Regions from separate parts of the Homo sapiens genome. Here region 2 is linked to region 1. Evidence: promoter capture Hi-C in human tissues and cell types (Jung and others, 2019). All regions are on one chromosome and are shown on one strand. Each heading gives the region's core, a stretch centred on a gene start or on the middle of the fragment in contact. The rest is flanking DNA. Distances are from core to core; before and after follow the strand shown.

Region 1 (5,494 bases), core at 2,057-4,556:
AATAAGCAAGCCCTCAAGCCTCTCAGATGGCAGGAGCCCAGGAACCAGAGCAGGGAGGCCCGGGCACAGGGGCCCATGATGTCTGTGCCCATGATTTCACAGGAAGGAGAATAGGCAAAGAAAACCCTATGCTCCGCCACCAGCTGGGCACCTCTACAAGGTGGCAGTACCAACAAAAACACAGGAGCAAGGCCATTCTTGGCAAACGCTGACCCAAATGCACCTGGCACCCCATCATGCTTTGCTACCTGTGCATCTCTTCTGCTCCAACAAGGGGGCGGAGCCACAGGGGTCGGGAAGGCCCAAGGCAGACCCGCAAGTTCCAAAACCTTTTACGGCAAGAAGCCTTGCATTCTACCATGATTCATCCAGTTACCTTCTAGCTTCAACCAGATACTGGCTTCGTGATATAAGGGACCTGCTGGCTAGGCACGGTGGCTCATGCCTGTAATCCCAGCACTTTGGGAGGCCAAGGCAGGTGGATCACGAGGTGAGGAGTTCGAGACCAGCCTGTCCAACACAGTGAAACCCTGTCTCTACTAAAAATACAAAAAATTAGCTGGGCGTGGTGGCGGACGCCTGTAATCCCAGCTACTTGGGAGGCTGAAGCAGGAGAATTGCTAGAACCCGGGAGGTAGAGGTTACAGTGGGCTGAGATCGTGCCACTGCACTCCAGCCTGGGCAACAATGCGAGACTCCATCTCAAGAGGAGAAGAGAAAAAAAAAAAAAAAGGAACCTGCCTAGGACAGGAACCCCGTCAGGTCAGTTATACTTTGATGACCGGTCAAGGAAGCAAGAGGAGGATCCTCTGACCAACTGCGTTAACTGCTTTGAAAACCAAGAGACCCGCAGCACGACTTCAGGCATGCCCCCACCTCCCAGGCAGCAACGCTGGGAAGAGTAGGCCCCGGTTCCCCATACCCCGCCCCGGTACCGTGTGTATCCACAGCAAAACATGGCTCTTCCCATCGACAACTGGGCATAGCTGTTGGTTTTGTGCCAATCACCCCACTTGGGAAACCCTGAGCCACCATGCCTCAGGGAAAGTGGTGGCACTTCCTGGTGGCACCAGGAATCGCACAAGGCCATCACTGCCGCCTGGTGCACAGGGCTCCCGCGGCTGGCATCTCCAGAGCCTGGAGGAAGAGGGTAGAGGAAGGTAGCACCGGCTGCAGCAGGCCTGGCTGCTTCGCTCTGCACACCCCCACTTTCACTTTCTGGGTATGACTACTTCGGAGTGTAGGGCAGGCACTGTTTGCAAGTCCCGTCCTTCATTCAAAGCTCACTCACTTCCGAAGCAGGCGCGAGCTGTTGTCAAAGGAAAGTAATTACTCTACTTTCTAAAAACAAAACAAAAATAAAAATGGAGTGACTGCCCACTCGGAGAAAGCTTTTGAAATCCCTCCTCCCCGGATGTCCCAACGGCAGGGCTCAGGCTGGAGCTGCTCCCACAGTCTTTCCAGGCACCCGGTGCCCTGCTGAGGCACCGGGCCTCTGAGGCTACCCGGAAGGTCAGAAAGAAATGCCCCTCGCTCGCCTGCAGCCCGTCCTGTTACAGCGTGTGCCTTATCTTTCATGATCAGTAACCACCAGCACCCATCAAGGCCTCAACAGAGAAAACGGCAAACACAGACCTTTATTTGCAAATGAGAGGCTGCATCAGGGCTGCCAGGGAAGAACCCGGAGGGAGGGCTCCCTAACCCCCGAGGCCAGCCCCTTGCAGGGGTTCAGACCTTCCTTAGACCCCGTTGGAAGCCAGTAACAAACTACTTTCCCCAGAAAAATGCCATACAACTTTGCATAGATTCCAGGATCTCCCCAGGCATACTACATGGACCCAGGAAAAAAAAAAAACCCTCCATTTTAAAGAAAAGAGTAAGGGGAAAAGCCTACAAAAGAGCAGGGTAAAAAGAAAACTCTTTTCCTCTTCTGTTCCTTCTCACAGGGTAGGGCGGGGGAGGACGGGACACACGAAGCTGCCTCTTGCAGTTCCAGCCCAATTACTCTGCCCACCAATGCACTACAGTCTCCCCTCCTGGTTAACTTTTGCAGACAATGACCAAGTTTAATGTAAGGGGGAGAAATCCCAGTATCTATTTCTGAGCAGAAAGCTTTCAACCAAAATTAAAGATCGCAACCACTCAAGGATTGGGTCGAACGGAGGAACCCACACGATGGACGCCGGGTCCCTGCCCCCGGTGGGTCTCGGCGGGCCGAGTTCTCGCCCTCCAGGGAAAGGAGGCCGCGCGAAGCCCCCATCCCGGCCCTGCCCCCGAACGAGCAACCGGTGGAATAAGACTTCCCGCACGCCCCAGCTTTATTCACAGAGAGCCCACCAGGGCCATGTGGGTGTACACGGTTCGGGGTGCGCATTTCTCCCCGGATGGGCTTGTATCACGTTGTCACTCCGGCGCCCCCCAAAAGTGGGAAGGAGGGGAAGCACCCCCGTCCCTCCCGCTCCAACTCGCCCTCGCCCGGATTAAGCGATTTTCAGGCTGATTTCAAAACGGGAACTGGGTCTCCCCCTGGTTTGGGTGCAATAATCCGGCAACTCAGGGGGGCTCAAAGTCAGCTCTGGGCCCGTAACTCTGGGAGGAGGCCGCGCAGAGCCCAGGGCCGAGCCCGGCCTTGCCCCCCGCCCCGGCCGCGGCGCGCGGCGACGGTCCCCAGGCGCGGGCCCCAGCAACGGCTCGGGAGCGAGGCCGGCGGAACAGGCGCGGGGAAAGTGGCCCCGCGGAGCGCACGGCCGCAGGCCGGGGCCGCCGCGCGCACCTTCCCCCTCCGCGTCCTCCCTGGGTTCCCCCTTCGAAAGATGGCGGGCGGAGGAAAGGGGGAAAAAAATCCCTTCCGTGAGGGAGGGCGCGCGGAGGCCGGGCTGGCGCGGGGCGCGCGGGCCGCGCCAACTCCGGGCTGCGCGCCCCGGCCGCAGCGACGCCCCGAGTCCGGGACGGAGGCGGCCAAGCGGGAGCGGGAGGAGGGGAGCGGAGCCCGCGCCACCGCCGCCGCCACCGCCGCCGCGACCCCGGGCGGCCGCCGCGCTTTGTTGCATCGTGGCCGCGCACAAAGGCGGCGGCGGCGGCGGCGGCCCCGGGCGCCCGGTTCACCCGGACGCGCCGGCGGACTGCGCGGGGCGCTCGGGGCCGCGCTCCCCGGCCCAGCCCGGCCCGCCGCCGCCCGCGCCGCCCGCCGCCCCGCGCGCGCAAGGAAGCAAGAGAAAGGCGTACTTGGCCTCGCGGCTCCGGCGGCCGTCCCCTCCCGGCCCGCGCGGCCGGCTCCTCTTTGGCTCGCCGGCCCCGGCAGCATAATAGACGCGCCGGAGCCGAGCAGGGCTCATGCGCTGCGCCGCGGCGCCTGGCGGGAGTCGTAGTCCGCGGCCGGGCCCGCGCCGGGGCCGCCCAGGGGAGGCCGCGGGCGCGCGGACTACATGTCCCGGCCCCGCCGGCGCCGCGCCCCGCCCCGGGGGCCCCCGCCCGCCCCGCCGACCCGGCCGAGAGCGGGCCTGGCCCGGGGGGCGCGCGGGGGCGGGGCTCGGCGCCCGCCCGGCAGGGCAACAACGCTGGGACCCCGTGGGCCGTTCCCCGCCCGGGCCCGCACGGCTCTCCTCACCCCGTGTCGGGGACAGCGCCTGGCGGCGGATTTTCCGGTGCCCCAGGACGGCATGGAAGAAGCGGGCACGCAGCCAGCACCGCAGCCCCCGTCCGGGCACCCCGAGGCCCGCGGGAGCCACCCTCGAACCCCGGCCGCGCACGGGCGGGGCGGCGCGCACCTGCCGGGAGCCCGTGTTTGTAAACAAACCGCGCGCCTAATTAGCCTGGCGGGAGCGCGCGCGCGGGGCGGGGGGCGGGGCGTCGGTGCGCGCGGGCAGGTCGGCCCCGCCCGGGGAGGAGCCGCGCTCTGCCGCGCCCTCCGTGTCACCATCTCCCCCACCCGACTTGCTGGGGCGCGGGCGCCCAAGTTCGCTGTTGCTGGAGAGGGCGCCAAGTCCCCAGAGCTGGCGAAGAGTTAGGGGTGCTCCCAGCTCTGCCTGGGGACCTTCTCGCCCCAAGCCCCGGTTTCCCCATCTGCCCAGTGAGGGGCGGGAACTAGATACCAGGTTCCCAGCCTGAGATTCCGGGAGAGGGCCACCCCTGGCCCTTTTTCTGTATCTTGAAAGGTTCAGCCCGTGGACACGTTTTGCATCTTGTTTTGGGTGATGACGACTCGGGTTTACACATAAATCAAGTTGTGGGGGGGGGGGTTTTGTTGTTTTTTTGGTTTTTGTTTTTTTTTTTTTTTTTTGAGACGTTAGTTTCGCTCTTGTCACCCAGGCTGGAGTGCTGTAGTGTAGTGAGTGGCTCGATCTCGGCTCACTGCAACGTCCGCCTCCCGGGTTCAAGCCATTCTCCTGGCTCAGCCTCCCGAGTAGCTGAGATTACAGGCACCCGCCACCACGCCCGGCTAATTTTTGTATTTTTTAGTAGAGATGGGGTTTCACCGTGTTGACTGGGCTGTTCTCAAACTCCTGACGTGAGATGATCCGCCCACCGCGGACTCCCAAAGTGCTGGGATTACAAGCGTGAGCCAACGCACCCGGCCACATAAATCAATTTTAATCCAGCTGTAACTTAAGGTGGTTACACGTTGTGTACATTAGACCCCAATAAAAACGTCAAAAACAAAACGAGGTTCCTTGGTGCCTGCTGAACCTGCCAACTGCAAGGTCGAGTTTCCTTGTGTGGGCTGCACCCACCCCAAGCCCCTGGGGTCCCCAGGTGTGTTCCAAGTTGAGCAGCAGCTCCACTGCCTGAAATGCACACATCTATGCAATATTCACAAAGTGAGTGCCAGCACAGAGACAATTCATCCCCATGCTCACCCAGAAGGCAGGTGTTCTGTTCCAGGCTGACAGGTAAGGAAACAGGCTCAGTGAGGCAAAGGGTCCTGCCCAAGGTCACAGAGCCAATTTGCAGGACGGCTGAGACCCAAAGCCCCGGGGTCTTAGGAAGAGTTTGCAGGGGAAGCCAACACCTTTCCCAATCCTGTCCCTCTGTTTCTGCTGGGAGCCCAGGACCTTCTCACACTCCAGGGCAAGGCTCTAGGACGAGGTTCCAGCCTTGCCTTTCTAGTTGGCAAAATGGACAAAGTGCAGTCCTCAGGCGCAGGAAGGTCGGGGAGGGGGAATATGAGAGGTGAGGATCTGCAGGCAGTTCCCTTAGAACTACCATCCTGGTTGTGTCCCCAAACCCCCGGTGCAGTTCCTCAACCTACAGGCTTCTGTGTTAGCCACCTTGGAGGCTGCAACCCATTCCTGCTGTCTGCATCTCATCTCCTTGGGTATCTTGAGCACTCTGACCACCAGGATGGCCACCTCACCACTTACACAGACCCCACTGCACTCCTCCCAAGGCTAGAACAAAAAGCCTTTCCGCCTGGTCTTGACCTCAAGGAACCCAGGTACATGCACACAGCAGGCTGCCCTGACCAGCCAGCGTGTCTGAGGCTGCTGACCAAATG
Region 2 (5,232 bases), core at 486-2,985, 1.8 Mb after region 1:
CCAGGCGTCCGCTCTCGGGCTGTTCTTTGCACCTGACTCAAGTTTCATACCTACATCTTACCAATTCCGTTCTCAAAAACTCATGTGAAGTCTTGGATGTAGCAGTGTTTCTTCCTCATTACAACACAGAAACTAAGGTTCCACTGAGCCAGTAAACAAGAACTGTAAAACTGAAAACTGTCAAAGGAAAAACTCTTTCCCAATTACTACTTACACAGTACAAAAACCAGTTTGAAATAAGGCGAGTTATTTAATCCCTAAAACTTACAAAACGCGTTTGTCCTTATGACTAACTCGAGTCTAGCTGGGGCACAGGCCACTGTCAAACAGGGCAACGCCTACTCAGCGTTTTCCAAACTGGTCAACTGAACTCTTCTCTGGAAGGGCTGTCTCCTTTAGTCTTACTCTAAAAAGGGTAATTTTTCACCAGAATAAAGGCAAATATTTTAAGAATGCTTCAAATGAAAAGAGGATTGCAGAAATATTAACCTTTAATTGTACCTGAAACAAAGCACCTGAAATTAATAAAGAAGTCAGCCACTGACGAGAATCACTAGGTCTGTCCTGTTCCCAGGGCACGAAACAGAAGCGTCTTAATCCACTAAGCACATTAGGGCCTAACAAACTGGACTGAGTAACAAGGTTACCTAGTTCTTCCAAACAGGAATTAACCAAAGGGGATCATTATGATTAAGCACAATGCGCGGAATACGCAATTTCTAGTTGGGGAATTCAACAGCTGACAGCTTGTAAGCATCAAAATTCATAACAAGTGCAAGGCTCGGAATCACAGGTCCAGCACTGGACGATGCCCGGCGCGCCGGGAAGCGGCGCCTCAGACGGCGGCCCCGCGTCCCCATGGTCCCTCCCTGCGCCCAGAACCGGGCAGCTCCTTCCCGCCGCCGCCGCCGCCAACGGGAGGCTGGGGGCACTCCCGAAATAGGAGCGGAAGCCCCGACCCACGCCGCCCTCCGCCGCAGGGACGCCCACTCGCCAGGTGACCGCGTCCCCACGCTCCGCGTTGCCCGGGCGCCGCCAGGACCTCGGAGGCGGCCGGCCCAGCCCCGACCCTGTGCGGACGCGGCACAAAGGCGCGGCGCGCGGACCCCGACCCGGCCGGACCCCGGCCGCGTCCCCCGGCCCCGGCCCGCGCCCCTGGCCCCCGCCCCGCGCCCCTCACCCGGCCCACCTCGGCCGTAGGCCTTGGCGCAGATCCACTGCAGGTTGGCGGCGATCTTGGCGCGCGCCGCGTCGTAGCGGTCCAGGGGCACGAGGTCGGCGGCGCCGTCCGGCGGGGCCTCCATCTTCCTCCAGCCCTCGGCGGCGGCGCGGCCGCTCGCGTCCACCATCTGCAGACAAAGGGCTGAGGCGGCGGCCCGGCCGCAACAAAGGCGCCGCCGCCCCTCGCCGCGCCGGGCCCGGTGCGCCCCGAGCCACCACTCGGCCCCGCAGCCGGCCAGCCGGGAGGGGCGCCCGAGCGCGGCCCCCGCCTCACCTCACAGCCGCCGCCGTCGCCGCCCCCGCGGCTGCTGCATGCTGCGGGCGCTGAGCCCGAGCGGAGGAGGTGCCGAGCCCGCGGCCCAAAGAGGCGGCGGCAGGAGGGCGCGGGCCGGGGGCGGGGGCGGGCGCGGGGGCGGGAGCGGGCCGGGGGCGGTGGCAGCGCGTGCGCGGTCCCGGGTGAGCGGCGGCGGCGGCGACAGCGGCTGAGGCGGTGGCCAAGGAGCGGGAGCGCGCTCACCGCCGGGGCCTCGCACAGGCGCAGTAGGCACCGCCCGCCACCCCGCCCTCGACCCCGCCCCCAGCTCCGCTCCCTTCTCGCGCCTGCCCCGCCCCTTTCCGCAGGCGCAGTAGGCACCGCCCGCCAGCCCGCGCCCGCCCCGCCCCTTTCCGCAGGCGCAGTAGGTGGCACCCGCAGGCCTGTGCCTGCCCCGCCCCTTTCCGCAGGCGCAGTGAGCGTCGACCCGCCCCTCCCCGCCCGCTTCCGCAGGCGCAGTAGGACCCGCCCTGGTCCGCGCCTGCCCCGTTGCTTTCCTCAGGCTCTAAGGCCCGCGGTGTGGAGCGCGGCGTAGGCAGCGGGGAGTGGGCGGCGCGGGGTGGGTGGAGTGGGTCGGCGGCGGGGATCCTGCCGAGCCCGCAGCTGCCCTCTTTTAGCGCCGTGTCTCCTCCCCGGCCCTGGCTCGTCCCACCTCAGCCACAGCCCGGCCCCCTGGCCGGCCGAGGTCTCGCCGCCGGCGCCCTGGGGACCTCGTGGGTGTGGCCGGCGGCGACCTCGGCAGGCGACAGCCCAGCAGACGGGCACCAGGTGGACGTGCCAGTCTCCAGACCCCCGTCCCGGTGCAGGGAAGGTGGGCGTTTGGACCCCTGAGGCAGAAACAGGTGCGGCCCCGCCGGCGCATCCCCCGGAAGGGACGCTGACTTCGTTCCCCTGGAGCCTGCGTCGGGGCCCGCGCTGGGCTGAGAATTACGGGAACGCCGTGAGAGTTTGCATTCCGAGGATTTGGTCTGAGAACCTCACCAGCGAAATAGAGAACTGCCCCCGGGAGAGCCGGCCCACGTGCCGCCCACCGGCGCCTTGACGGCAGGGAGAGGTCGAGCTTCCAGGGAGCGGGCGCCCGGCGCGGGGCTCCCAGCCTGTCTGTACCTGGTCGAGACACCCCGTGCCAGAGGCGGAACATGTATGAAATGCCAGGTGCCCAGAGGACCCAGGCAGTCCGTCATTCACATACCAACCCACGTGCAGGCTTCAATTCAACCTTGAAGCCATTTGGGCCTGGGCTTTTTTGATGACTTATTTGATTCATAGTTTTTTGGTTACTAATTGAGTCTCTTCACTTGTTATAGGTCTGTTGAGATTGTCTATTTTTTCTTGAGTCAGCCGTCTGAAAAGAACACGAGGTGGACAGGGCAGAGCGGTCAAGGAAAGCCATAGGAGGAGGGCACTTATTTGAGCAAAGACCGGCGGGACGTGGGCGTCGAGGGTAAGGATATCTGCAGAAGTACTGTCTTGAGCAAGGAGCACGGCAGACAGAGCCTCTGAGACACGAGAGCCTGGAGTGTAAGAAACACAGTAGAGGCCACTAAGTCGAGAACGCAGGAGCTGGAAGGACTGGTAGGAAATGGGAGGTGGGGACATGGAGGGATGCAGACAGGTCCTGCACAGTCAGAACTGTGGCCCCTTCTCTGCAGGAAATGGGCAGCCTTCGGAAGACTGAGCACACGGAAGGATATGACTAACCCTTTAAAAGGGTCATTCTGACTCCTGGGTGAAGAACAGACTAGGAAGGGCTGAGGAGGAGGCAGGAGGCCATCTACTGTTATATGGGATGTGGAGTGTGACCCGGAAAGGTCAAGTGTGACTCTAAGGGCTTTTTGTGTACTGATCTTTTATCCTGCAACCTTGCTAAACCCATTTATTAGTTCTTCTTGTCTTTTAGTGGCATTTATTAGTTGTTCTAGTGTTTTAGTGGATTCCTTGGGATTTTATACAAAAGCGTGTCATTTGTGAATAGAGATCAGTTTATCTCTTCCTTTCTAATCTGGATGCCTTTTATTTCTTCTCCTTGCCTAGCTGCCCTATCTAGAAGCTCCAGTACAATATTGACTAGAAGCAGCAAGAGTGGACATCCTTGTCTTGCTCCTGATTTCAGGGAGGAGGCATCCAGTCTTTCACCTTTGGGTATGATGATAGCTGTGGGTGCTTAAAAAATAGGTTTTATCAGGCTGGGCACAGTGGCTCACGCCTGTAATCCCAACCCTTTGGGAGGTCGAGGCGGGCGGATCACGTGGGGTCCAGAGTTTGAGACCAGCCTGGCCAACATGGAGAAATCCCATCTCTACTAAAAATACAAAAAGTTAGCTGAGGTTGGTGGCCGGTGCCTGTAATCCCAGCTAAAAAAGGGAAACTGTCTAAAAATCATTAAAAAAAAGGGTACTTCCTCAACCTGATAAAACCTATTTTTTGTTTGTTTGAGATAGTGTCTCACTCTGTCACCCAGGCTGGAGTACAGTGGCTGGATCTTGGCTCACTGCAACCTCTGCCTCCCAGGTTCAAGCGATTTTCCTGCCTCAGCCTCCTGAGTAGCTGGGATTGCAGGCACAGGCCGCCACGCCCAGCTAGTTTTGTATTTTTAGTAGAGATGGGGTTTTACCATGTTGGCCAGGCTGGTCTTGAACTCCTGACCTCCAGTAATCCACCCCCCTGGGCCTCCCAAAATGCTGGGATTATAGGCGTGAGCTACCACGCCCAGCCGAGGAAGTATCTTCTATTTCTAGTTTGTTGAGTGTGTTTATCATGAAAACGTGTCAGATTTGGTTAAATGATTTTTCCACATCCATTGAGATGATGATCATGGGTTTTTTTCCTTGTTCTAGTAATGTGGTGTGTTACATTAATTGACTTTCAGATATTGAAAAGACACTTATCCCCTGCGTTCAGATAAATTCCAGTTGGTCATGGAGTATCTGTCTTCCTGGATTCAGTTTAATACAATTTTGTTGAGTGATTTTTTTTATCCATATTCATCATAGATACTGGTCTGAAGTTTTCTTGTGGTGTCTGTGTCTGGTTTTGGTATCGGTATCAGTGTCCTACTGGGCCTCATAAAATGAGTTGGAAGTGTTCCTCTTTTTTTTTTTTTTTTTTTTTTTAAGATGGCTGTTCACTGTATCATCCAGGCTGGTCACCAATTCCTGGCTTCAACTGATCCTCCCACCTCAAGCCTCCTGAGTAGCTGGGATCACAGGCACAAGCCACTGGACCCAGCTTTAATTGTTTAAGTGTTTCATAGAATTCATTATTGAAGCCATTTGGGTCTGGGCTTTTTTGATTACTTATTTTGATTATTAATTCAATCTCTATTTGTTGTAGGTCTATTCAGATCATCTGTTTGTGTCTTTAGAGGAATTTGTCCGTTTTATTTAAGTTACAGTGTTTTGGGCGTAAGCAATTTTAAGGAGAAAGTTATCCTTAACCAAGATGGGAAAGGTCGAGGCAGGGTGGTACAGGGATTTTACCTCCCACCAGGTATCTCCCACAAACTCCCCCTAATATAATACCGGCGGAGTTTGGGCTGTGGCTTTGGCTGTGTTGAGTCTCAGATGCCTGTTGGGCCTCCTCATGGAAACGCTGGTGGGCGATTGGATGAGCAAGTCACCGGCGTGGCCCAGGTTGGAGACTGGGAATTGTCACCACAGAGAGAGCCTTTAGAGCTGTGAGACAGGAGGAGGCGCCAA

What was found. The method cuts DNA at HindIII sites, captures the fragments that hold promoters and counts their contacts. A contact is called where the count stands out against the background at its distance.
Region 2: the fragment with the promoter of CAMSAP1 here is called in contact with the fragment with the promoter of BRD3 in region 1 in 1 of the 25 tissues and cell types used here (lymphoblastoid cells).

The regions. Positions count from the first base shown.
Region 1 is chr9:134,064,720-134,070,213 of GRCh38, forward strand. It overlaps BRD3 (bromodomain containing 3), which reads right to left and starts at 3,307. Exons shown (of 12, transcript NM_007371.4): 1 at 3,226-3,307. RefSeq lists silencers at 2,753-3,002, 3,183-3,912. The HindIII fragment of the contact is 16,877 bases long and covers 1,752-5,494 here.
Region 2 is chr9:135,905,811-135,911,042 of GRCh38, forward strand. CAMSAP1 (calmodulin regulated spectrin associated protein 1) reads right to left here and starts at 1,736. Exons shown (of 17, transcript NM_015447.4): 1 at 1,190-1,736. The coding sequence starts at 1,349. It overlaps CAMSAP1-DT (CAMSAP1 divergent transcript), which reads left to right and starts at 2,023. Exons shown (of 2, transcript XR_007061860.1): 1 at 2,023-3,109. RefSeq lists an enhancer at 1-228 and silencers at 875-924, 1,325-1,394, 1,475-1,584, 1,625-2,304. The HindIII fragment of the contact is 39,877 bases long and covers 1-5,232 here.